Linked DNA regions of Homo sapiens: regions 1, 2, 3, 4, 5 and 6 are each linked to region 7. The links are contacts of gene promoters, found by promoter capture Hi-C in blood cells and fetal thymus (Javierre and others, 2016). All regions are on one chromosome and are shown on one strand. The core of a region is centred on a gene start or on the middle of the fragment in contact, and the rest is flanking DNA. Distances in the headings are between cores, read along the strand shown.

Region 1 (3,521 bases), core at 410-2,909, 390 kb after region 7:
CCCGACAACTGTGATTTCCCATTTATTAATATCTGTCTCTTCTGCTGGCCTGCAAACTCCAGGAGCACAGAGACATCTTTGGGATTTTTGAACATGATTTCCCCAGGGCTTAGCCCAGTGCCTGGTGCAAAGCAGGCTTTCAACATGTTCAGTGGATATTGTAAGAAAGAAAGAAATACACAAAAGGCCTGGCATATGCAAAGCACTCTAAATATTCACTCCTTTCCCTTCCCTCTGGGTGAGAAAATTTCTCCTTATAAAGACACCCTCCTAACTGTATCTCTGCTAGAGAACTGAAGACATAAAGCACTCTGTGCCAAAAATATTTAAGTAAAAACTTGAGCTAAGCACAGAGATTATAAATATTTCTTCCCCAGATTACGCACCATTTAAAAATACTGTCTCAGCTCCTTTTCATGATTTGGGTGGTGATTAAAGAAAATTACTCTTCAAGACTGAAAGTCATTACTGCCCTTTTCCTGACTTGCCTTTTCCCTTGAGAAGGGGAGGATAAGCTGCAGGGCAGGAAGTGGAAGTGGGGCATCCTTGTCCTTTGTCTGGCAGACAGCCAACTGGTCAGGTACTGCTCCTTCTCAACTCTTTCCTGATTCCCAGGTGAATATAAACAAGAAGGCACAAATCCACACTTGCCAACAACGGACCCAAGTGATAACAAGAAACCCAGTGACACCTGTCTAGGTGAAGACTCAGCCCCTATGTGACCAGGTTGCAAAGCCAAACTGACCATCTGCTTTCCATTTGGACTTTTAGTTCATACTGTATCTTCTCAGGACAGTTAAGTTGGAATACAATGCCACTGTCCTGAAAGATGGTAGAATTATCCTATTTCTGGAGGAGTGGGGGTGGTGGGTAGGAATCTCAAGAGCGATTTGCTCCTCTGCACAATAGCTTCTTTAAGGACACCAGGGCCCCCAGGGCTATACATTTCCCTGAAGCTTTCCAGATAAGCAACAAGGTATGAGCACCTGCTATGTATTGCCCAAGGGTGATGTGTTTAAATATCCATTGCATATTTTAAATCCTTGGCTGGCTTAAAGCTGCAAGCTTTCTGTCTTCAGTGGATATAATGGGGGCATACATCCCAGAGCTTGCCCAACACTCCAAGAAAAGAACCCTCAGCTAATGCAAAGTGTGTATGTGCCCATGAAAGCTCCATGTCTACTTAACATTCAGTTTTTAGGATTATTTATGCTGTAATAATAGATATGAAAATCTCTGACAGGTATTTTGTTTCCTTTACAAACTGTATTTGAATTTATGGGTGATTTAGAGCTTGTGTTTAAAGTCAGAATTCAGAACCCCAAAGAAAATGACTTCATTGAAATTGAACTGAAGAGACAAGAACTGAGTTACCAAAACCTACTAAACGTGAGTTGCTGTGAACTGGGGATTAAACCAGAACGAGTGGAGAAGATCAGAAAGCTACCAAACACACTGCTCAGAAAGGTAAGGGTTAAGAGTTTCTAAATGCAGAATCACAGTGGGTGACATCATGTTCTCTGGAGCCAATCGTTTACACTTCTGCATTTCATGACACCAGAAATCCTGGCTGCAAAACGGCCAAACATGGTAGCTAGGTCATTTTCAATCTGGCGCTTTTAAGATTTGCACATCTAATCCATAAACCTTTTAAAAACCTCTAAATGGTCCGATCACGGTGGCTCACACCAGTACAATCCCAGCACTTTGGGAGGCCGAGGTGGGCAGATCACAAGGTCAAGAGATCGAGACTATCCTGGCCAACACGGTGAAAACCCGTCTCTACTAAAAATACAAAAATTAGCTGGGCATGGCAGCGCGTGCCTGTAATCCCAGCTACTCAGGAGGCTGAGGCAGGAGAATTGCTTGAACCCAGGAGGAGGAGGTTGCAGTGAGCTGAGATAGCACCACTGCACTCCAGCCTGGCGACAGAGCTAGACCCTGTCTCAAAAAAAAACAAACCTCTGAATGACAAGTGACTCCCCAATTTAAGGCTTTAGTTCAGTGCTTTTGGCCCCACCAATCTCTGCAAAATTGACTGGTTAACATAAAATGGCATAGTCCTCAGGAAAAAAAAAAACACAAACCCATCCTTGTTTGCTTAGCAAAGGGTGGGTTTGCTAAGTATTTGAAATATTAGCAAACAAAAATTGTTTTGCATTTTTATATATTTCCCAGATTTAAAATACAGATCTTAATTTTTAATTTTGGAAAGGAAATCTTATTTCTTTGGAAATTTTTCTTTAAAGCTTTCAAAATTCCTTTGGCAATTTTTTTGTTTTTTGTTTTTTTGAGACAGGGTCTCTGTCACCCACAATAGAATGCAATGGCGTGATCATAGCTCACTGCAGCCTCGAAATCCTCAGCTCAAGTGATCCTCCCATCTTAGCCTCCAGAGTAGTTGGGACTACAGGGACACACCACCACACTCCATTAATTTCTTTTTTTTGAAATGGGTCTGGCTATATTGCCCAGGCTGTTCTCAACCCCCTGGCCTCATCCTCCTAAGTGCTGGGATAACAGGTGGTGAGCTGCTGTTCCTTTGGCAATCCTTACTGGTGTCTTGGCTTATAGTGTATATTCTTTGTAAACTAACATGTCAAGGGATGATCATGCTTTCCAGATACCTTAACAACAAAAATCTGCTGGGTGTGGTGTCTCATGCTTGTAATCCCAGCACTTTGGGAGGCCGAGGTGGGCGGATTGCTTGAGCTCAGGAATTTGAGACCAGCCTGGGCAACATGGTGAAACCCTGTCTCTACAGGAAAATACAAAAATTAGCTGGGTGTAGTAGACTTGGGAGGCTGCAGTGGAAGTGGAAGGATTGCTTGAGCCTAGGAGGTTGAAGCTGCAGTGAGCTGTGACTGTGCCACTGCACTCCAGGTTAGGTGACAGAGCGAGACCCTGTCTCAAAAAAAAAAATACAGAACTATCTTATGGGGACCGGGCGCAGTGGCTCACACCTGTAATCCCAGCATTTTGGGAGGCCCAGGTGGGCAGATCACCTGAAGTCAGGAGTTCAAGACCAGCCTGGCCAACATGGTGAAAACTGTCTCTATAAAAAATACAAAAATTAGCCGGGCATGATGGCGCATGTCTGAATCCCAGCTACTCAGGAGGCTGAGGTTGCAGTGAGCCAAGTGAGGCAGGAGAATCACTTGAACCTGGGAGGCGGAGGTTGCAGTGAGCCAAGATCGCATCATTGCCCTCCAGCCTGGGCGACAAAAGCAAGACTCTGTCTCAAAAAAAACAATACCTTATGGGTTCAGAACCCAAGATGCTGAACAATATTAATATTAAGGTTTTCTATTACATTCAAATTTATTAAGCATAATATAATTTCTTTTCTACATTAAGGACAAAGACATTCGAAGACTGCGGGACTTTCAGGAAGTGGAACTCATTTTAATGAAAAATGGAAGCTCCAGATTGACAGAATATGTGCCATCTCTGACAGAAAGGCCCTGCTATGATAGCAAAGCTGCAAAAATGACTTATTAAATACTCCCAGGAATGGCCGC
Region 2 (3,689 bases), core at 889-3,388, 430 kb after region 7:
TAACAGCCAACAGTACAAGAATATGCAGATGACCCGGAAACGATATCAACAGCTTCCCCAGCTTCATTATACAATAATTCCACCTATTTAGATGAGACCATGTGCTTTGTTTTTGCTCAACACTACCAACATTTTCCCTGCAGATATCAATCTGAAATGCCAGTAACTGACTTGAAATCCTTCAATCTAGAGTGAAGTGCAATCTGTCATTAAGGCATTAAATACTTTAGTAATAAACACTGAAAGTTAAAATTAGTGAAAAGTACTAAAACTGAAAGCAAAGCAGATTACGGCTGAGATGACATAAAACCTAAATTGCTATTCTGAGGGCCTCATCATTGAAGAGTCATAAACCCATCACATACAATGCAATGTGGCAACAAATTACCCCGGGAAAGAAAACAGTTTCTCTAAAACGTGTTCAAAGTCAAGGGTGCAGAGATACAAGGCTGTTCCAACTGATAAGGAGTGCAATGGAAAGCATTTTTCTCTTGAATTCAAAATATACAAATAACCTATTGAACATAAGCCAAATCGCCATAATGTTTTGGTTTTTTACCTTACTTAGGATTTTGAGCGTTATTCCTAACACATTTGCAAAGTTTAGACTGAAAGGTTACAGAGTCAGGTAGTTAAAAAAAAAAAAAGTTACTTCGCTATAACAAAGATGCCTACAAAAGAAAGATGGTCAAGGTAAGCAGTTCCTTAGTCTCCTATTGTGACAAATGGTCGGGGGGATGGGGAGCCTAAATGTTAAAAACAAAAAACCCACCTCTTAAAAACAATAAATTCTACTCTAAGAATGTTTCATACTACTTTGGAATCAGTTAGCACCCCAACACAACTTGAGCCAAACTTACTCTTTCTTAAAGTCCTAAAAGGAGTCATCTAGCACCAACTTGCTTTCCTACACTGCAAAAAAGAAATTTTACCTTAACCAAAGCCTACGTTTAAAAAGAGTAAGAAAACAGTTTTCTAAAGAAGCATGCATTACCTGAACTATTCCTTCCTATTTTGATTAGCAATTGTTTTAAAATTAGCATGTTAGATTATAACCTCAAAGTAAAATTAAATTCTGTATCTATTCTCCAGATAAGACCTAAAGTAAACATTACACTGCATGTTCAAAACTAGATCAAAACACTTGAAATGCTACAGTAGGTGCAGAGAACCAGTTTCATAGGATTGTGGAAAGCTAACAGAACTACAAAGATTAGTTTCCTCAGTTGCCAAGACTTTGGGTGAGCCTTTTTAAGTCTCACCAGTGAAACTGGGGTTATAATATTTACCTTTACTCCCCGGGCTAAGAGCATCAAATGAGTTTTATGTGGAAGAAAAAACCTTGACAGCTGCCTCTATAAGGGACTTCTTAGAATACTGTTAACGAACAATACTTGTAAATCATCACGGTAAACCCTAACAAGTAAACGACTTCTTTTACATTTCTATTTCCCCGTATAAGCGTCATGCTGTAATTACTTAAATAAAATACCGCCACGATTTTTACCATGAATCCTGGTCAGAAATTTTAGTCTAAATACGACGTTCAACCCAAACTATAGAAAAATGTGCCCTTCTCCCTATTTCATAATGAGGTGAAACCTCGGAGCCGCTAGATTTAATAAGACGCTGCTATCCTTCTTTCCCGCGTTTCCCCGCCTCATCAAGGTGCTTTTCAATTATGCCAAGGGCTCTCCCGGACCCCCTTGATACTAGAACAACAAAACCAAATCACCCCCATCCCCGGGTCCGGACAGCATCCTCCCTCCTGGCTCCATGGGCACCGGGTCAGACGCTCGACCCCGGGTGCGGCCCTGGCCACATCGCGCCGCGGCCAGGAGGGCCACAGCCCGCGCCCGCTCCCCTCCCCCACGGAGCCCGGGCTCAGGCCAAGGCCCGCGGGACTTACGCTCTCGTGGTCCCACCGCACGTTGCTGCGCTTCTCGTCCGGGGCTAGGTTTCGGTCCCGGCCCATTAACTCATCCAACAACTGCGCGGCCGAAATCATGGTGCTTCCTTCGGGCGGCTGTTCCCACCAGCCCAGGCACCCGCCAACGAAAACACGGGCGACACCGTCGCCAATCTCCTCGGCCCGCTCTCAGGCCGAAATCCCTCCTACACACAGGAGCCGACAAGACAAAATGGCCGCCGCGCGGACGCCTTCCCAGCATGCCGTGCGCCCGTGGGACACGCCCAGGCCCGGGCGGAGAGGGCGAGCTCGGCTTCCGCCGTCCGGGGGCGGGGCCCGCGGAGGCCGGGTAGGGACTCCGCCCCTGTCTAGAGGCCGCGGGGACGGGTAGCCTCTGCCCGCGCGCCTCCCCAAGCGCCCGGTTTTCCCGAGCTTCTTCACGGTGAGAAATTGGAGCCTAGGTCTTGAAGCCTGGACACCGCTTCAAAATGGAGAAAGTGTCTCCTTTAGTCCACGTGGTGCACATGGTGCCTCATGCAGCGGAGGAAACTGAAGATTACGGCTTCCGACTCCATTTTCCTAGTCGCTGTGCTCACGCCTCTTGCACCTGGCTTTGTCCTCCCGCCCTGAGTCTCCTGATTAACAGGATGGGAAATCGAGGCAAGAAGAGACAAGGCGGCTTCTAAAATACGGGGATTCAGTCCTACACCAAATGTCTCCCAGTGTGGAATTTTTTAAAAAGATATTGATCCAGTAGGCCAGGTGAGGTGGCTCACGCCTGTAATCACAGCACTTTGGGAGGCCGAAGCGGGCGGATCACCTGAGGTCGGGAGTTCGAGATCAGCCTGACCAACATGGAGAAACCCCGTCTCCACTAAAAATACAAAATTAGGTTGGCGTGGTGGCGCATGCCTGTAATCCCAACTACTCAGGGGGCTGAGGCTGGAGAATCGCTTGAACCCGGGAGGCGGAGGTCGCGGTGAGCCGAGATCGCGCCATTGCACTCCAGTCTGGACAACAAGAGCAAAACTCCATCTCAAAAAAAAAAAAAAAAAAAAAAAAAATATATATATATATATATATATATATACACACACACACACACACACACATACACACACACACACACACATATATATAGATAGGTAGATCCATTTATTCAACAAATGGTATGTGCCAGGCACTGTGCTTAAAGCTAAACTCAGAACCTTTCAGACAGTCCATGCTCCCGCAGACCTGTGCATTGGCGAGGGGAGATAATCGCTGAAGAAATAAAGTCACAAATATATCAACGTATGTTGGGATAATGCTTTAGCACAGTTAAGGGTATGGTCTCTAAAGCCAGATTGCCTGGGTTCGTAATCCCAGCTCTGCCGCTCTGTGCCTTTGTTTCCTTTTCTGTAAAATGGGGTTTACAATAGTCCTCCCCCGGCCCCCAGCCACGATGCTATTGTGAAGATTAAATGAGTTTATACAATGTAAGGCACTACACATTGATAACAAGCCCAACACTTTTATTTTTGGGGGGACTGGGTCTGGCCCTGTCACCCAGGCTGGAGTGCAATGGCACGATCTCAGCTCACTGCAGCTTCAACCTCCCGGGCTCAGGCGACCCCCTCGCCTCAACCTCCCCAGTAGCTGGGACTACAGGCGCATGCCACCACGCCCGGCTAAGTTTTTGTATTTTTGGTAGAGACGGGGTTTCGCCAAGTTGCCCAGGCTGGTCTTGAACTCCTGAGCTCAAATAATCCACCCACCTCAGCCTCCCAAAGTGTTGGGA
Region 3 (4,041 bases), core at 1,542-4,041, 370 kb after region 7:
ATCGCACCACTGCATTCCAGCCTGGGTGACAGAGCAAGACTCCGTCGCAGAAAAAAAAGAATTGACTGAGGAAACCCTGAATTCTGTAATAAAAATGTTTCCACATCGTGCAACATGGGAAATGGAGGTGGAAATCCAAGTCAATTATAGAAAATAGAAACATTCACACTTCTGACTTTGTAACCCATGAAGCTTGTGCCCCTACAAGGAGATCTCACCCCCATGTAACCTGGGTGCCAACCCATTACCTAAGAAAACAGACAGGCCTGGAGAGCTTTAGGGAGAGTTGTGGAGGGACGGACTTTGAACTCTTGTAAAGTGACTTGCTTTTATTAGGCACCTACTGTATACCAGGCACATTGCTGAACACTATATATTATTTATTTTTCTTTTTTCTTTTCTTTTCTTTTTCTTTTTCTTTTTGGACAGTCTCACTCTGTTGCCCAGGCTGGAGTGCAGTGGTGCCATCTCAGCTCACTGCAACCTCCATCTCCCAGGTTCAGGTGATTCTCGTGCCTCAGGCTCCCGAACTATATATTATTTCTTTCTGTTTTTGTTTGTTTTGTTTTGTTTTTGAGACAGGGTCTCACTTGGTTGCCCAGGTTGGAGTGCAGTGGTGCGGTCTCAGCTCACTGCAAGCTCAGCCTCTGGAGTAACTGGGATCATAGGTATGTGTCACAACGCCTGGCTAATTTTTGTATTTTCACTAGAGACGGTGTTTCGCCATGTTGCCCAGGCTGGTCTCAAACTGCTGGCCTCAAGTGATCCGCCCGCCTTGGTCTCCCAAATTGCTGGGATTACAGGCATGAGCCACCATGCCCAGCCTACATATTCTTTCTAAGTGAGGTGGAAATTATTATTTTCTTTTTGCAGACAAGAAAACTACAACACAGTTGCTGAATGAGGGAGCCAGGGTGCATTGGGCTGATTTCCCACAGGACAGTTTATGGACTCCTTGGATAACCAGGAATACTGCTCTGCGGCTTTACACCCAAAGGTGGTGCTGGGAGAGATGGGAGACCAGGGAGGGACTGAATTAAAAATGCAGGTTCTTGGAGGAAGCTCAGGCAGGAGTGGGGCGGCCCCTGGTGGACACACGGAGAATGGCAACTCGGTGGTGCGGACCTGCCCTGCCCAGTGGCCTTGCATGGGAATGGCAGGGAAGGAAAGGGGCAGGCTCAAGAGGAGGTATTGAGAGGGGCTCCCATGTTGGAGCTCAGTCCTGGGACAGCAAAGGCTACTCCTGGGGCGCGGGGGCGGTATGGGAAGGGGCATTTCATGAGGACAGGCAAGAGGAAGGAAGCTGACCTTCACTGAGCGTTGACTATGCTCACAAGATACAGGTGGGAAATGATATCGACTTTTAAAACGGGCCCGCTGGGCGCGGTGGCTCATGTCTGTAATCCCAGCACTTTGGGAGGCCGAGGTGGGCAGATCACTTGAGGTCAGGAGTTCGAGACCAGCCTGGCCAGCATGGTGAAACCCCATCTCTACTAAAAATGCAAACAAATTAGTGGGGCATCATGGCACATGCCTGTAATCCCAGCTACCTGGGAGGCTGAGGCAGGAGAATCGCTTGAACCCGGAAGGCAGAGGTTGCAGTGAGCCAAGTTCCCACCACTGCGCTCCAGCCTGGGCGACAGACCAAGACTCCATCGCAAAAAAAAAAAAAAAAAAAAAAAAAAAAAAAAAAAGGGCAAAGATATCCAGGCACATGCGAACCAAAAGAAAACCAAGGTCATGACATGAAGCTCAAAAAATTATATGAAACACGACGGATCTCTTTGTACTGCTAAAAGGGAAAGACCCCAGAAAATAAAACGTGCACCAAGTAACATAATGTAAAACACATAGGCCGGGCGCGGTGGCTCACGCCTGTAATCCCAGCACTTTGGGAGGCCAAGGCGGGCGTCACGAGGTCAGGAGATCAAGACCATCCTGGCTAACACGGTGAAACCCGGTCTCTACTAAAAATACAAAAAATTAGCCGGGAGTGGTGGCAGGTGCCTGTAGTCCCAGCTACCTGGGAGGCTGAGGCAGGAGAATGGCGTGAACCCGGGAGGCGGAGCTTGCAGTGAGCCGAGATGGAGCCACTGCACTCCAGCCTGGGCAACAGAGCGAGACTCTGTCTCAAAAAAAAAAAAAAAAAAAAAAAAAAAAGTGCACATCAAGAAAGTGAAGAGACAATCCACAGAATGGGAGAAAATATTCATAAATCATATACCTGATCAGGGACTTGTAACCAGAATATGTAAAAAGGCTCTTACAACTCAATAAGAAGACAACCCAATTTTAAAATAGGCAAAGGCCAGGCTCGGTGGCTCATGCCTGTAATCCCAGCACTTTGGGAGGTCAAGGCAGGCAGAACACTTGACGTCAGGAGTCCTAGACAGCCTGGCCAACATGGTGAAACCCCATCTCTACTAAAAATACAAAAATTAGCCTGACACAGTGGCACGAGCCTGTAATCCCAGCTATTCGAGAGGCTGAAGCGGGAGGATCACTTCAGCCCGGAAGGCGGAGGTTGCAGTGAGCCAAGATCACATCACTGCGCTTCAGCCTGGGCGACAGAGTGAGACTCCGTCTCAAATAAAATAAAATAAAATAAAATAAAATAAAATAAAATAAAATAAAATAAAATAGGCAAATGATTTGAATAGATGTTTCTCTAAAGAAGACATGCAAATGGCCAATAAACACAAGAAGAGATGTTCAACATCACTAGTCATTAGGGAAATGCAAATCAAAACCAAAATAAGATACCACTTCACACTCACTGGTATAGCTACAGTTTAAAAGACAAATAAAAAATAGACCTTCTCAATCCCCCTGTCTCTGTGAACTTCCGCTGGGAAAAGCGATGCACTGGCGAAAGCCGTGTGAGGGGGGCCTTTGGCTCCAGAGAGACGGCGCGAGAGCCCCAGTGGGAACCACCCGGAGACCCAGAAGATCGAATTCGCCACTGCGCTGCGCGGCCGCCACACTCGCCGGGATCGGCCGGGTTTGAAGACGCGCCATGGAAGCCAGAGGGGTCTGACGATGGGGACCTCTCGGAGCGTCGTCGCCCTGCTACTGCGCCTTGGCGGCCGCGCTCCATCTGGAGGCTTCCTCGTGACGCATACGCAGCCTGGCCGCCAAGAAGACCGTCGCCTGCCTGGGACAGCCACCCTGGACACCCAGAAGCCAGGAGATTTCCAGTGAGGCCCTTCGCTTCCTTATCTTTTGCCCAAGAACTGGGTTTCCGTAATGCGTCCGCTCTGTTCCCATGCCACCCAAGAGGCTGTGGCTGAGCAGCGCTTCTGACACATTGCTCTCTTTAGTCTGTTCTCGCAATAAAATCCAACGCCAGTGCAAAATAATAATAATAATAATAAACATAGGGCCAGGCACGGTGGCTTACGCCTGTAATCCCAGCACTTTGGGAGGCTGAGGCGGGCGGATCACGAGGTTAAGAGTTCCAGACCAGCCTGGCCAACATAGTGAAACCCGGTCTCTACTAAAAATACAAAAAATTAGCCGGGCATGGTGGCACGCCCCTGTAATCCCAGCTACTCGGGAGGCTGAGGCAGGAGAATCGCTTTGAACCCAGGAGGCAGAGCTTGCAGAGAGCAAAGATTGCACCATTGCACTCCAGCCTGGGCAACAGAGCAAGACTCCGTCTCAAATAATAATAATAATAATTAATAAAGGCCAGGCATGGTGGATCACACCTGTAATCCCAGCACTTTGGGAGGCTGAGGCAGGTGGATCACTTGAGATCAGGAGTCCAAGACCAGCCTGGCCAACATGGCGAAACTCTGTCTCTACTAAAAATACAAAAAAAATTAGCCAGGCATGGTGGCACACGCCTGTAATCCTAGCTACTTGGAAGCCTGAGGCACAAGAATCACTTGAACCCGGGAGGCAGAGATTGCGGTGAACCGAGATTGTGCCACTGCACTCCAGCCGGGGTGACAGTGAGACTGTCTCAAAAAAAACAAACAAACACATAGTGAACCCCCATCTCTACTAAAAATACAAAAAAAAATTACCGGGCATGGT
Region 4 (3,516 bases), core at 175-2,674, 360 kb after region 7:
GGAGGGAGCAGGCCCGTCCACACCTGAATTCCAGACTCCTGGCCTCCAGAACCGTGAAGCAATACCCTTCTGTTGTTTGCAGCTGCCTAGTGTGTGGTACTTAGTTAAGGCAGCTCTAGAAGCAAATACACAGGGCCTCAGACGGGGAGGCCTCAGATTAGAGGGAAATGCCTCTGACTCCCTATGGTGATTGAGACACTGTCATATTCGTTCCTGTCCCCAGCCTTGCTTGTGAGGCCAAGAAAAGCAAAGGCTGAGTAATGACAATGCTAGGCAGAGGGAAGTCTAGCTAACGTCAGGCCTCCTGCTCTCTCCTGATCCAGGGGTAGAAGGAAACAGACCGTGGGCTGCTGGATGAGGCGTCTCCCCACTCCTGGGTCCACCACTCCGCTCCGGCCACTCAGGGCTGCCTGACAGCTCGGGCTTCCGCCTGAGCTCACCCCTGTCTCTGCCACGTCCTGAGCAAGGCCCTGCCTCTCTCCCAGCCTTGGGTTCTCCCTAGCCCTGAGGCTCCCATGGCCATGCCACCTGCTGAGCCCAGACATCCCCTCCTCCCTGAACCCTCCCCTGACCCCTTCCCTAGACGCCTTCTGTGTTGGGGATGCCTTGGGACGGCTGAAGAGGCCCCGTGCTGAACCGCTAAGGGAACAGGACAGTCAGACACACCTGCCTTCAAATTCAGGCGTCACACTTGTAGCTGTGTGACTCCAAGCAAGTTCTACATGGCATCTATTTCCTCCTTTGTAAGGTAGTGATCCCAGCAGGGTTGTGGGAGGCAGCTAGTCAAGGTTGTAAGAGACTCTGCAAGGCCGAGGCTCTTTCCCTGGGTCCCACGGGCCAGCCTCAGGAGGTCCATGAGAGCCCCGAGGCTGGAGTGAAATAGCGCGTACGGCTGCCTACATTGCTCTCAAGCCTTAGCTCTTGCCTTGTTCTCAGAGGGGTTCATGACTTCAAGAAGTTAAGACCCCCACGTAAATCTCCCAGCCCAGAGCCCCTGAACACCGCTCCACTTTGGACTGAGCATCTCTCCTGGGTCCTGCCACCTTGCATCTTGCCCTGAGCTGCATCTGCCGTGTGGTGTGGTGGCCTGTCCCCACAAGGAAAGGGGCCCTCACAAGGCCAGCCTCAGACCCTGTGCCTGACCCAGGGCTCCTTTGCAAAACAAGTTCTTTTTTTTTTTTTTAATACTTTAAGTTCTAGGGTACATGTGCACAACGTGCAGGTTTGTTACATATGTATACATGTGCCATGCTGGTGTGCTGCACCCATTAACTCGTCATTTACATTAGGTATATCTCCTAATGCTATCCCTCCCCCCTCCCCCCACCCCACAACAGGCTCCGGTGTGTGATGTTCCCCTTCCTGTGTCCAAGTGTTCTCATTGTTCAATTCCCACCTATGAGTGAGAACATGCGGTGTTTGTTTTTTTGTCCTTGAGATAGCAAAACAAGTTCTTAATACTGCTCCTTCCCGAGGGGCCCTGAGGCCCAGCTTGCCAAGCGCCCACAACGCACCTCCAGCCAAGGTTTCAACAGATCTCACGAACAACCCCAGTCCAATGGAACACACCATGGAAACCGTGTTGTTTACGTTTCACAGATTTGCCGGGGATAAAGGCTACTTAATGAAGGAGGGCCTGAAAGTACTCATGGGAAAGGAGTTCCTTGGATTTTTGGAGAATCAAAAAGACCCTCTGGCTGCAGACATAACAATGAAGGACATGGACCAGTGCCAAGACAGCACACTGAACTTCCAGAACTTGTTTTCACTCACTGCGGGGCTCACCACTGTGGACAACAACTATTTTGTAGTACCTATGAAGCAGAAGGGAACGAAGCAGGCAGAACTAAGCAATTACTCAGCCCTGTGAGAGTTCTCCCAAAGAGTCGCTATAGGAACCTGCCCACAGCTTCCCCCTGTAGAAGGCTTTCATGAGCAGACCAGGGCCAAGAAAACAGACACATCAAATCCAAATCTCATCTAACAAGCAAAGAAAGGAAGTTAATTAAATAATAGGCTTTTGGTCTTTGGATTGTTTGCATCCTCTTGGCCTCAATTGACACATCCTTTTTAGTTTGGGAAAAATATAGATATACTTTTTAAATTATTTTTTAAGCCTTTGCCTCTGTACATATATATTTTTATATTATATATATATAGTGTTTGGCTGAGCTCAGTGGCTCATGCATGTAACCCTAGCACCTGGGGAGGCTGAGGTGGGTGGACCTTGGGCCCAGGGGTTTGAGACCAGCCTGGTCAACATAGTGAGACTTCATCTCTACAAAACAAAACAAAACAAAAAAAACCAGCCAGGTGTGGTGGCGTGCATGCCAGTAGTATCAGCTACTCAGGAGGCTGAGGTGGGAGAATTGCCTGAACCCAGGAAGCTGAGGCTGCAGCGAGCTATGATCACCCCCACTGCACTCCAGCCTGGGTGACAGAGTGAGACCCTGTCTCAAAAAAAAGTACATATATTTATGTATGTATGTATACATACGTATCTAGAGTTTCTTCTCACTGTGGTTTGAATGTGTACTCCCAAAAACATGTGTTGGAAACTTAATCCCCAATGCAACAGTGTTGAGGTAGGGCCTAATGAGACGTGATTATGCCAGGAAGTTCTGCCCTCAAGAAAGAGCTAATGCTGTTATCTCAGTGGGAGTGAGTTCCTTATAACAGGATGAAGTTGGCCCCTTTCTCTCTCTGTCTCTACCTCTCTTGCCCTTCCACTGTCAGATGATGTGGCAAGAAGGCCCTCACCAGATGCCGGCCCCTCAATATTAGACTTCCCAGCTTCCAGAACTATAAGAAATAAATCCCTGTTCCTCATAATTATCCAGTCTCAGGTACTCTGTTATTGCAGCATAAGACAGACTAAGACACTTCTCTCTCCGTCAACCACATTCCTTTTTTTTTTTTTTTTTTTTTGAGACGGAGTCTTGCTCTGTCGCCCAGGCTGGGGTGCAATGGCACGGTCTCGGCTCACTGCAACCTCCGCCTCCCAGGTTCAAGCGATTCTCCTGCCTCAGCCTCCGGAGTAGCTGGGATTACAGGCACCTGCTACCATGCCTGGCTAATTTTTGTATTTTTAGTAGAGACGGGGTTTCACCATGTTGGCCAGGCTGGTCTTGAACTGCTGACCTTGTGATCCACCCGCCTCAGCCTCCTGAAGTGCTGGGATTACAGGCGTGAGCCACTGCGCCCGGCCTATTCTTTTTTTTTTGAGACGGAGTGTCGCTCTGTCACCCAGGCTGGAATGCAGTGGTGTGATCTCAGCTCATTGCAACCTCCGCCTCCCAGGTTCAAGCAATTCTCCTGCCTCAGCCTCCTGAGTAGCTGGAATTACAGGCACACACCATGACACCTGGCTAGTTTTTGTATTTTCAGTAGAGATGGGGTTTCACCATGTTGGCCAGGCTGGTCTCAAACTCCTGACCTCAAGTGATCCACCTGCCTTGGCCTCCTAAAGTGCTGAGATTACAGACGTGAGCCATCATGCCTGGCCACCACATTCCT
Region 5 (3,949 bases), core at 67-2,566, 340 kb after region 7:
TAAGAGGACGCCCAGGGCTTGGGCACCAATGGCCACCCAAAGGCAACTGTATAGAAGTTTAGCCCAGGGGCAGTCAGTTCCCCAAACCAGGTCAGCGGCCATAGCCCTCAGAAACAGGAAGTACCACTGTCCCTCCCAGCCATTGACCATCAACAAACCACGTTGAACACCCATTCCGTGCTGCTCCAGAGACAAGGAAGAAGCGGGGAGGAACAGGTGTGGAAAGGGGAGGAGTGAAGATTCTATTTGGACAAAGCTAAATTCAAGATGTGAATTTTTGACTGAGCACAGTGGCTCATGCCTATAATCCCAGCAGTTTGGGAGGCTGAGGAGGGCAGATCACCAGAGGTCAGAAGTTGAAGACCAGCCTGGCCAACATGGCCTATCTCTACTAAATATACAAAATTAGCCAGGTGTGGTGATGAGCACCTGTAATCCCAGCTACTCGGAGGCTGAGGCAGAAGAATTGCTTGAAGCCAGGAGGCAGAGTTTGCAGTGAGCTGAGATTGCACCATTGCACTCTAGCCTGGGCAACAAGAGTGAAACTCCATCTCAAAAAAAAAAAAAGATACTAATTTTTTATTTATTTATTTTTGAGATAGGCTGCTCACTGCAGCCTCAGGTGAGACTCCGTCTCTACAAAAATATTTAAATATTAGCCAGGCCTGGTGGTGTGCACCTGCTACTTGGGAGGCTAAGGTGGGAGAATCACTTGAACCCAAGAGGTTGAGCTGTGACCACGCCACTGCACTCCAGCCTGGGTGACAGAGCAAGACCCTGCCTCAAAACAAAAGAAAGATATTTACAGCCATGGCCTTGGCACTGTCACCAGGTGGGTGAAGAAAAGGACCTGTCCCAAGGCCCAGGATACTGCTACATTTAGAGGTCTAGAGAAGGAGGAAACAAGCAAAGAAGAGGAAATCCAGCAGCCGGTGAATAGGAGGAAAGCCAGGAGATGGTGGAATCACAGAAGGCAAGGAGACAAAGCACTTAGAGAAGGAGGAAGTGGCCATGCTTTGGTTAACGCTGCTAGGAAGTGGATAGAGGAGGGCAGAGTTGTGGACCCCGGGTTGGCAGAGGGGATCCAGGTGCAGTGCCAAAAGCTTATACAGTATTGGGAGATGGGCAGGCTCTCCTTATGAAAAATAATATAAACTTACAAGTAAAAGTGTGCGTTCAAGTTTTTAGAATATGAAAAAAATCACAAATTACACATTTTTAAAAACTGATAACACCCACCTCAGCAAATCTAGAAAATTAACATAATATTCTTATAATTAAGTGCCTGACTATAATCCTTTCCTTCCTACATTTTGACTACCTACTCTTTGATTGCCTTTTCATATTATAATGATTTTGTAATATGAATTTTTATAGAAAAAAAGAAAAATAATCAATTCTATTTTTCTTTTTATTATGAGAATTTAATACTTTTTTTCACCTTTGCAATTCATATTACTAATGCCGTGAAAATGTTTAGGGTTGTTTAGGATTTGTTGTCAAACTTGGGGCAACCTGTACCAAGCTTCTTTCAACAATGAGCCAATAGGGAGAAACAACTCAAGCGTCCATCAACGGATGAATGAATAAACAAATGTGGTATATCCAGACAATGGAATATTATTTAGCCTTAAAAAGGAATGAAGTTCTGATATATACTACAACAGGGATGAAACCTTTTTAATTTTCTTTTCTTTTTTGTAGAGATGTGGTCTTGCAATGTTGCCCAGACTGGTCTTGAACTCCCGGCCTCAAGTGATCCTCCCTCTCAGCCTCTCAAAGTGCAGGCATGAGTCACTACATCCAGCCAACATAGGTGAACCTTGAAAATATTATGCTAAGTGAAAGAAGTCAGACACAAAGGACAAAGACTGCAAGATTCCACTTATCTGAAGTATCTAGTGTAGGCAAGCTCACTGCAGCCTCGACTCACTAGGACTCAGGTAATCCTCCCACCTCAGCCTCCCAAATAGCTGGGACTACAGGCACGTACCACCACACCCAGCTAATTTTTCTATTTTTTTGTAGAGATGGGGTTTTGCCAGGTCGTCCATGCTGGTTTCAAACTCTGGGGCCCAAGCGAGTCACCCGCCTTGGCCTCCCAAGGTGCTGGGATTACAGGCATGAACCACTGCACTCAGCAGCAAATTCCTTATTGCAGGAAAATCTATGAATCCTCCTTTCTTCCTCCTCCCTATCCAAGAGGCCACCAGATCCTACTGGTGGTGCCTCTAAAATATCTGTTGCCTGTCTTCTCTCTGTCTTGCTTGTTACGAATTAGTTTATTATGCCATTGCCCTGTCTGGGATTGGCTCCCCTACTCATCCCTCTGCCCTCTGGCTCCAGCATCTCTGTCACCAGGAGTCATAGTCTTCCCCTGAGGACCAACCCCAGGGCCTCTTAGCTTCATCTTCCTTCTCCTCCTCCTCCCAGGGATCTGCTCCAAGATGATGGATGTGACCAGGCCTCTCTGTGGGAGCTGCCACCTCCTCCTGGCCATGTTGCCTTGTCTCTCTCCTCATGGTCACAACATGGCTGCAGCAGTTATTCTATCTATCTATCTATCTATCTATCTATCTATCTATCTATCTATTCTAATCTATCATCTATCTATCCATCATCTATCTAATCTATCTATCATCTGTCTCTTATCTATCATCTATCTATCTAATCTGTCATCTATACTTCATCTATCTAATCTATCATCTATCTATTATCTATCTATCTAATCTATCATCTGTCTATCCATCATCTATCTATCTAATCTATCACCTATCATCTATTATCTACCTATTATCTGTCATCTATCTATCTAATCTATCATCTATCTAATCTATGTATTTATCTAATCTATATATCTATGCATCTATCTATGTATCTATGTATCTATCATCTACCTACCTATCTATCTATCATCTATCCATCCACTCATTCACCCATCTATAATGAATTTTACTCACATGAAGATAATAAATACTCAAGACTCATCCCTTCCTAATTCTTCTACTACCTGGCTGGAACTAGAAAAGGAATGAGAGTGAGCATACCGTCAGCAGAAGGGATGCCTACACTAACAGCCGTTAGTTAGCATCATTCAAAAGTCCTCTTGATCTGGTTCCTGCCTACTTCTCCAGCTCCGTGTCACACCCCTCGCCCTGTTGGACACAGTTCCACGCCATACTGGGCATCCTTCAGTTCCTGGAATCCGCCAAACTCTCACCCACCCCTGGGGGTTTTTCCTGCCACTGACTTCTAACCTCTGCTGGGTCTTGGTTCAGATACCACTTTCTCCAGGAAATCTTCTGCGACCTTCGGACTGGGTTGTTGACCACCTATGAGCTCCCATATCTGTCTCTATTTTATTTAATAAATATGTATTCGCCACCTCATCTGTGCCAAGACCTACTGCTCCATTGCTTGTTCTTGTCTGTTTCCCACTGGAACATACGCCCTGCAGGGGCCAGCATCGCATGCACCTTCCTCATCAGCATGTCCTGTGACAGCTAACAGCACGCAAAGCACAGGCCACAATGCCACACATTTTTGTTGGAGAAGAAAAAATGAATTAATTGTTTTAGTTGAGGTGAAATTCACACAACGTAAAATCAGCCATTTTAAAGTGAACAATTCGTGGCCGGGCAGAGTGGCTCACACCTGTAATCCCAGCACTTTGGGAGGCCAAGGTGGGCGGATCACCTGGGGTCAGGAGATCGAGACCAGCCTGGCCTACATAGCAAAACCCCGTCTCTACTAAAAATACAAAAATTAGCCAGGTGTGGTGGCATGCACCTGTAGTCCCAGCTACTAGGGAGGCTGAGGCAGGACAATTGCTTGAACCCAGGAGGCAGAGGTTGCAGTGAGCCGAGATCATGACACTGCACTCAAGCCTGGGCAACAGAGCAAGATTCTGTCTAAATAAATGAATAAATGAAGTGAAGAATTCAATGGT
Region 6 (3,945 bases), core at 761-3,260, 450 kb after region 7:
CCAGCTCAGATAGGGTTCTAAGTGTTTTACATGTGTTAGCTTGTTCACAACTACCTGGGGACATAGTTACTGTTCTCTCCATTTACAGATGAAGAAACTGAGGCCCAGAAACCGTAAGTTGTTTCCTCACTTTTCACAGTGCCCCTTCCCAAGGTCATAGGATTGACAGTAACTAGTGGAGCCAGAAAACAAACCTGGTATCTGATGCCAGACCTACCCTCCTAAACACAATGTCTGCCCCATAGGAGGTGTTTAGTGAAGTGATTCTGAGGTAGCCTGAAGAGGCTTCTTATAGGTTTTTTTTTTTTTTTTTTTTTTTGAGATGGAGTTTCACTCTTGTCACCCAGGCTGGAGTGCAATGCGTGATCTCAGCTCACTGCATCCTCCACCTCCTGGGTTCAAGCGATTCTCCTGCCTCATCCTCCCAAGTAACTAGGATTACAGGTGTGTGCCACCACGCCTGGCTAGTTTTTTGTATTTTTAGTAGAAATGGGGTTTCACCATGTTAGCCAAGCTGGTCTCGAACTCCTGACCTCAGGTGATCTGCCCGCCTCGGCCTCCCAAAGTGCTGGGATTATAGGCGTGAGCCACCGCGCCCGGCCTCTTGTAGATTTAATTGGAGGAACTGTCTAATAGGCCCCTCAAACTCAACATGTCCAAGATTGAATTCCAAGTCTCCCCTCATCCCTCTACCACCTCAAGCCTGCTCCTCTGAGTCCTCAGCCTCTCAGGAGTGCTCAGGCCAGAACCCTTGGCACCCTGCTTGCCTCCTGCTTGCCTCCTGTCTTTCATAGCCGACATCCAGTCAGCCAATTCTATGAGCTCCACCTTCAGATACAGTCAGAATCTGACTACTTCTCACTAACCCTACCACTACACCTCTGATACAAAGCCACCATTGTTTCTCTTGCTTGGATTATTACAATAGCCTCCTACTAGTGTCCTTGCTCCTAAGCTTATATCATACAGTCTTCTTAATTAACACAGTGGTCAGAGGGATCCTGACTTAAAACATAAGTCAGATCATTTCACTCTGCTCAAAAATGGCTCCTATCTCACTCAGTAAAAGCCTACAGGGTCCTACAATTTCTACTTCCTGTCCCCACATCTTCCCTCCTTACCTCTGTGCTAATCTCATGGGATTTGCCCTTCTGCTTACCTTTTTCCCCTGGCCTCCTTGCTTTCTCTGGAATACCAGACAGTCCTGATTCAAGATCTTTGCGTTTTGTCTTCCCACTCTCTTAAATGCTTTCCCTCCAGATATCACATGGTTTGCTTCCTCACCACCTTCAGATTTTAGTTTAGATGTCACCTTCTTGGCAAGGCTTTTCCTGGGCCCTCAATTTAAAGTTGCACAATGCCCCTTTCCAACCTCTGTCATTCCCTAATGCCTTTCCCTGCTTTACTATTGCTGTCATACTTCATCACCACCTAGCGTACTGCGTGCTTTGCTTATTTATTTGCTGATGTCTGTTTCCTCTTCTGTAAAATGGGGGGAATGTTGACAGTAGTATTACCTCATGGGTTTAGAGGATTAAATAAGTTAATACATGTAATGCCTTTAGAACAATGTCCAACACGTAAAGCATTATACCTGTATTAGCCATTGTTGTTGTTTTCTTATTATGAAGCAATATGCTAGATAATGGAATATAAGGTTACCCTCAAAAAAACGTACTCTCTTGCATTTGCAAAGCAGAATGGTGACTGCTTTCAAGTCTTAGTTGCTCAGTAATCACAATTTCAGCACCAATGAGTGATGCCCTGTTGATGAATGACACCCAGTGCCTCAGGTCTGAAATAGTTTCTGACACTAATAAGATATTTTGACTGCAAATGTAAAGCTTAAGGAGTTGAAGTTCAAAGATAGAGTAATCTATCAATTAGATTGATCACTAATCATTCCCCCACATCAGTTGTAATTCAAGTGTCATGCATAACCCTTGGTTCATGAAGAACTTGAAAATATTACCTGGCTGCAGGGGCTCTGAGTTATGGCTGCCCAGAGCCGCACAGCTCTGGACGGTAAATGATGATCACTAAGGCACAGGGCTGTGGGGGCCACGCTATGTTGACTTAACCCTGCTTTACATGGGTGGTAGTTTAGCAAGTTGGTTTGTCCCAGAGTCTCTCAGACCCACTGGTAGTAAATTACCTCCTTTACTCTCAAGCTTGCCACGAACAAGTGATCTACTACTAGCAAGTGAGCATTTTATTTCCAAAAGGGAGCATATTTTTCTCATCATGCTTCATTCATTTTTGAGGGCTCACTTATCATTATAATTGTTCACTTTTTAAGCCTGTGCCACAGACATCCACACACAAACACACTCAAGGTTCCAGTTTGCCCAGAATCAAGGGTAGATTGGATCCTTCTACTTCAAGCAAGGTCCACTTTATCCTTAGTTTACTCATTTGGTACTTTTTTTTTTTTTGAGATGGAGTCTTGCTGTGTTGCCCAGGCTGAAGTGCAGTGGCACAATCTTGGCTCGCTGCAACCTCCACCTCCTGGGTTCAAGCAATTCTCCTGCCTCAGCCTCCCCAGTAGCTGGGATTACAGACATGCACCATCACACTAATTTTTGTATTTTTAGTAGAGATGGGGTTTCACCCTATTGGGCAGGCTGGTCTCAAACTCCCGACCTAAAGTGATCCACCTGCCTTGGCCTCCCTAAGTGCTGGGATTACAGGTGTGAGCCACCGTGCCTGGCCCATTCAGTAAATATTAATTAATACATGCCAAGCAAACACTTCCTTGCCTTCAGGGAGCTTGATCAAGACTCTTCTCTCCCAAACTTAACGAGACTCTTATTTTTCCCAAATTAGCAATAATTTTGTCATTGCATCATGGAATACACCTTAAAGGAACCTGGATAATCTAATTCTAATGAACCATAATGTAGAATGTCACTCTGAGACATCAATGGAATTGCTCCCAGCCAGCCAGACATGCTAACTTTCTGTAAGTTACTAATGTTAAGCCCAGGGCAAATCAGCTTTTTCCTGGAATCATATAAACTTTCCAAATAATTATACTTCCCAGGTTAGTGAACTAACCTTCAATATTGAACATTTGTTCTAATCTTCATTTCTGTATTTGGCTATAAGAGCTCTGAAGATATGTATCTCAGTTCAGTTAGAGAGTTGGTGAAAGAAGACCTTTCAAAACACAGGCGAAAAGTATTTTCCTTCCATAATATACAGTCAGCTCTGGCACCTAGGGATGGATTTAGTTGCTCTGAATCTTTCATTTCTGTTAAGATGGAGTTTTTGCTGGCATGCTAATTATGTTTCTGTACAGTATTAAAATAGTAGCCCTTCAGAGTGTGCAGAATTGCTTCCTCTGTGTACAATATTGAGTGATTAGTTTTACTTAAATGAGTCTGATATGTTAGAAGAACCTGTTCGTGAAGAATTTTGGTTGTTGATGTATATTTTTTAAGTACCTCAGGAATTAAAGTATGTGTGCAGTGCCTTACATTTACGCAGATGAGGATATGTTTGTAGCCTTCTGGAGAGAACTAGAGAAGCCAACTTTTTAAAAATGGAAATTTGGAAATCCTTTGTGTGTGTGTTAAGGAAAGAAAAGTAAGAAGGAAAAAGAAAGTGAGCAACTGGGATTCAGGCAAGAATATCTGCTGTCATAATAATAATTTAAGTGACAGAGCAAGCTGCTGATAGGAGATGGTTATTATCCTGATAATATTGAATCTTCAGGTGGCATATGAAGTGAGTTTCCATAGTCCCTGAAAAGGAATATAGCAATAGAAAAATATGTTTCAGAGACTGAGATGATCTAATGAGCGATACTGATAGAGTATATTCCACGGTATCATTGGAGTTAGCCAGCCAGTGAGCTTACCTTCTGGAGGCTATTGAAATTAAAACTCCTAGGTTAAGTTAGTTTTTCTCAGGAGCCAGAAATGAAATTTAAAAACAAAATTT
Region 7 (3,870 bases), core at 87-2,586:
AGGATACAGGATGTTAAAAACAAGGCACTATCTTTCTCAATAATCAAGCTTGGGAGAAACTACACTGATGAAAAGTTTTACTAATGTGAAAGTGATGTCCGGTACAAAGCAGTAAGAAATAATAGTTTGACTTAATGCCACAGCCATAGCATTAGGGGTTTTAGAGAATATATCTTTACAACCCCCTTCATTTTACAAATGAGGAAACAGGACCACAGCACCAGAATGAAGGCCAAAACCCAGCATTCCCAACCCATTAATCCATTCTTGTAATGTTATGCTACACTTTACAATGCAAAGAATATTTTGACTAGCCAATAAACGGTGGGGTGTGGGAGAACTACAGACATTAGGAATATCTGATACGGGACATCATACTGAAAGGAAGCCTAGAGAGTAACTATTCCGTCCAGATCCCTCATTTTACAGAAGACTGCGCTCATGACCTACCCTGTATCACAGCTTGAGATAGGAGGCCCCTCGCCTTGAAAGACGATCCCTAAAGTAGACAGTAGCACCATCTCTTGGCCCCATCTTCCTGTCCTTTAGTTAACCTCTTCTTACAGCATCTTAGCACTGTAGTCCAATTTTCTGTTTGTGTGTCTGCCTCCCCTGCACACCAGGCTGACTTAGTCCTGTGTAGAGACTCTATGGTACCTAGCCACAGGGCCTAGCAGTCAATAGGAGCAAAGAAAATCATTTATCACCATTCTGCAACTTCCAAAAAAAAAAAAAGAGAGAGAGACAAAGCCCAAAGACTGCGGAGAATCGCACGATGGGGTGCGGGGCAAGCATAAATTGTCCAGGAGAAAACAGGACTAAAGCGCCAGAAATACACCCTAAAAATGTCCCTCCACATCGGTCCCGGTGACACAACAGTAAGCACTCAGTGCTTGCTGAATGAATGACACACACACCCGTCATTTATTCAGCAAGCACTTACAGAGCGCCAACTCCGTGCCCGGCACTGCTCTCGACAGACACAAATAAGGCACAGCCCTGTCGTCGCGGCCTGACGAGAAAGGCGGCCACCGACAAAGGCGAGTCCACGTGGCGTGGGACGTGCGCCGACCGGTCTGCACTTGTCCACAGGCGCTCCCTGCCCCTCCTCCCATCCGATCCTCCTCGCCGCCTCTTAGAGCTGAACTCATCTCTTCACTAACTCCTCACCTAACCCACTCCCGCGACTACACTCCTTTCTTTTTCCTCTCAGGATCCCGAACACCTCTTACCCTTCCAGCTGCTTAGGTTTGAACTCCGGCTGCAGCCGCCAGCACCCGAAACGCGCCCGGGACCCACGTGGTTCGCAGCACTTGCACGCACGGAACGCTTCTGCGCAGATCCGCTGCCGGAGAGCCCATTTTGCAGAACACCGCTCGCCCACGCTTCCTCTTGGGAGTAGGCAGTCATTCTAGGGAACAACTTTCTGCAGTTTAACTTCCGGCGCTAGCTTTTTCAGACCTTTCCGGTTAGCTGCTTGCTTTCTTCTCTCCACCCCCGGGTTCTCTGACTCACTTCCTTCGTTCGCGAGCAAATTGGCTTCCCGAGAGGTGGCGCTCACACGTTGCGTGAAGTCCAAAGAGTGCCTGACCTAGAAGTAGACTTTTCGCTCCCGCTTTGTGTTTATTCACCTTTTCTAGCCTGTCAAGCAAAAAATTTTGAGTACCTACTACGTGGACGCATTATTCTAGGCCCTAGGGATAAAACAGTATGCTCTCTTGGAGCTTCTGGGAGGGATGGGAGTATAGGAAAACAAGAAGCAAATAAGCAAATTAATATGTAATAGATCGCATTTTGTAAGTGCTGTGAAGAAAAGGCCAGAGAAATCTCTGAGTAAGTGATAATAGAATAGACCTGCATGAAGTGAGGGAGCCAGCCCAGTGATTCTTCGAGAGCCAAGTATTACGGTGGACATCGAGTGGTGGAAAATGCCGTTAGAATAGAGCCAAATCTTATGTTGTGAGATGCTAATACAGATTTTGCACAAGGCATGACATCATCACTAACAAAAAAACATTCCCACTGCTCTAAGGGGAAATGAACGGGGGAAAGGTACAAAAATGGAATCAGGAGCCGTTTCAACAAATGATGCTGGAGCAATTGGACGAATATAGACCCAAAGAACCTCAACCTAAACCTCTCACCTTATACAAAATTTACTCAAAATGAATCATAGATTTAAATGTAAAACAATAAATCACTTATGGGGAAAAAAAAAGTTAAAAAAAATCCTCAGGACCTAGGGCCAGGCAAATAGTTTTTAGACGACACCAAAAGACCAATCTATACAGGGAAAAAGTTGATAAATTGGAACTTACTGAAATTTAAAACTTTTGGCCGAGCGCGGTGGCTCACGCCTGTAATCCCAGCACGCTGGAAAGCAGCGGCGGGAGGATCACTTGAGCTCAGGAATTCGAGACCAGCCCGGGCAACATAGTGAAACCCCGTCTCTACTAAACATACAAAAATGAGCCGGGCGTGGTTGCAGGCGCCTGTAGTCCCAGCTACTCGGGAGGCTGAGGCAGGAGAATCGCTTGAACCCGGGAGGCAGAGGTTGCAGTGAGCCGAGATTGCGCCAGGGCACTCCAGCCTGGGTGACAGAGCGAGACTCGGTCTCAAAAAAATAAAAAATAAATAAAATAAATAAGTAAAATTTCATTATTCTCCTGTTTTCTTTTTTTTCTTTTTGAGACCGAGTATCGCTTTGGCGCCCAGGCCGGAGCGCAGTTGCACGATGTCGGTTCATTGCAAACTCCGCCATCCGGGTTCAAGCGATTCTCGTGACTCAGCTTCCCGCGTAGCTGGGACTACAGGCGTCTGCCACCACGCCCGGTATTTTCTTTTTCTTTTTTTTTTTTTTTTTTTGAGACGGAGCCTTGCCAGGTCGCCCAGGGTGGAGTGCAGTGGTGCGATCTCGGCTCACTGCAACCTCCGCCTCCCGGGTTCAAGCGAATCTCCTGCCCCAGCCTCCCGAGCAGCTGGGATTACAGGTGCCCACCACCACACCCGGCTACTTTTTGTATTTTTAGGAGAGACGGGGTTTCACCATGTTGGCCAGGTTGGTCTCAAACTCTTGACCTCGTGATCCGCCCGCCTCAGCCTCCCAAAGTGCTGAGATTACAGGCATGAGCCACCGCGCCTGGCCCTAATTTTTGTATTTTTAGTAGAGACGGGTTTTCACTATGCTGGCCAGGCTGGTATCGAACTCCTGACCTCAAGTGTTCCATCTGCCTCGGCCTACCAAAGTGCAGGGATTACAGGCATGAGCCACCGTGCTCGGCCTTTATTTATTTATTTGTTTATTTATTTATTGAGATGCAGTCTTGCTCTGTCACCCAGGCTGGAGTGCCTTGGCGGATCTCAGCTCACTGCAACCTCTGCCTCCCACGTTCAAGTGATTCTCCTGCCTCAGCCTCCCGAGTAGCTGGGACTACAGGCGTGCACCACCACGCCCGGCTAATTTTTGTATTTTTAGTAGAGACGGGGTTTCACCATGTTGGCCAGGCTGGTCTCAAACTCCTGACCTCAGGTGATCCGCCCACCTTGGCCTCACAGAGTGCTGGGATTATAGGCGTGAGCCACTGTGCCCTGCAGAAAAGAAATTTAAAACCTTTGTCCTGTGAAAGACCTTTTGAAGAGGACGAAAAAACAAGCTAGAGTGGAAGGAAATATTTCCAAACCACATATCAGATAAAGGCCTTCTCTTCATTTGAAGGTTTGAATATTTGAAGAACTCTGAACGCTCAACAGGTTAAAAAAATCCAATTAGAAAATGGGCAAAAGACATGAATAGACATTTCATTGAACAGGATATACAGAGGCAAGAAAGCACATGAAAAGATGTTCAACATCATTAGCCACCAGGGAAAT

What was found. Contacts are between HindIII fragments. The CHiCAGO score rates a contact against its expected background, and 5 or more counts as called.
Region 1: a fragment that was not itself captured here is called in contact with the fragment with the promoter of NME1 in region 7 in 3 of 17 cell types (monocytes, total B cells and fetal thymus); the score reaches 9.8 in monocytes.
Region 2: a contact is called between the fragment with the promoter of LUC7L3 here and the fragment with the promoter of NME1 in region 7, in 3 of 17 cell types (monocytes, fetal thymus and naive CD8 T cells). The highest score is 7.4, in monocytes.
Region 3: a contact is called between a fragment that was not itself captured here and the fragment with the promoter of NME1 in region 7, in 7 of 17 cell types (neutrophils, naive CD8 T cells, total B cells and 4 more). The highest score is 11.6, in neutrophils.
Region 4: a contact is called between a fragment that was not itself captured here and the fragment with the promoter of NME1 in region 7, in 1 of 17 cell types (neutrophils). The highest score is 5.1, in neutrophils.
Region 5: a fragment that was not itself captured here is called in contact with the fragment with the promoter of NME1 in region 7 in 1 of 17 cell types (total CD8 T cells); the score reaches 5.0 in total CD8 T cells.
Region 6: a contact is called between a fragment that was not itself captured here and the fragment with the promoter of NME1 in region 7, in 2 of 17 cell types (non-activated CD4 T cells and naive CD4 T cells). The highest score is 6.9, in non-activated CD4 T cells.

What each region holds. Positions count from the first base shown.
Region 1 is chr17:50,761,343-50,764,863 of GRCh38, reverse strand. It overlaps ANKRD40CL (ANKRD40 C-terminal like), which reads left to right. Exons shown (of 4, transcript NM_001358683.3): 3 at 1,307-1,467; 4 at 3,358-3,521. The coding sequence ends at 3,501. Among named protein-coding and RNA genes, the nearest start is that of ANKRD40CL, 4.4 kb to the left of the region's middle. The HindIII fragment of the contact is 1,184 bases long and covers 1,068-2,251 here.
Region 2 is chr17:50,718,052-50,721,740 of GRCh38, reverse strand. LUC7L3 (LUC7 like 3 pre-mRNA splicing factor) reads right to left here and starts at 2,138. Exons shown (of 10, transcript NM_016424.5): 1 at 1,910-2,138. The coding sequence starts at 2,008. RefSeq lists silencers at 1,802-1,861, 2,202-2,431 and an enhancer at 2,032-2,171. The HindIII fragment of the contact is 10,215 bases long and covers 1-3,689 here.
Region 3 is chr17:50,780,383-50,784,423 of GRCh38, reverse strand. No RefSeq gene overlaps it. Among named protein-coding and RNA genes, the nearest start is that of MIR8059, 14 kb to the right of the region's middle. The HindIII fragment of the contact is 5,194 bases long and covers 195-4,041 here.
Region 4 is chr17:50,795,683-50,799,198 of GRCh38, reverse strand. No RefSeq gene overlaps it. Among named protein-coding and RNA genes, the nearest start is that of MIR8059, 29 kb to the right of the region's middle. RefSeq lists enhancers at 1-63, 64-614. The HindIII fragment of the contact is 8,240 bases long and covers 1-3,516 here.
Region 5 is chr17:50,812,623-50,816,571 of GRCh38, reverse strand. No RefSeq gene overlaps it. Among named protein-coding and RNA genes, the nearest start is that of WFIKKN2, 21 kb to the left of the region's middle. The HindIII fragment of the contact is 422 bases long and covers 1,106-1,527 here.
Region 6 is chr17:50,700,890-50,704,834 of GRCh38, reverse strand. All of the region lies in intron 1 of ANKRD40 (ankyrin repeat domain 40), which reads left to right. Among named protein-coding and RNA genes, the nearest start is that of ANKRD40, 5.1 kb to the left of the region's middle. The HindIII fragment of the contact is 327 bases long and covers 1,847-2,173 here.
Region 7 is chr17:51,151,025-51,154,894 of GRCh38, reverse strand. NME1 (NME/NM23 nucleoside diphosphate kinase 1) reads right to left here and starts at 1,336. Exons shown (of 5, transcript NM_000269.3): 1 at 1,233-1,336. It overlaps NME1-NME2 (NME1-NME2 readthrough), which reads right to left and starts at 1,336. Exons shown (of 9, transcript NR_037149.2): 1 at 1,233-1,336; 2 at 451-670. RefSeq lists enhancers at 1,066-1,485, 1,269-1,800, 824-2,023. The HindIII fragment of the contact is 18,411 bases long and covers 51-3,870 here.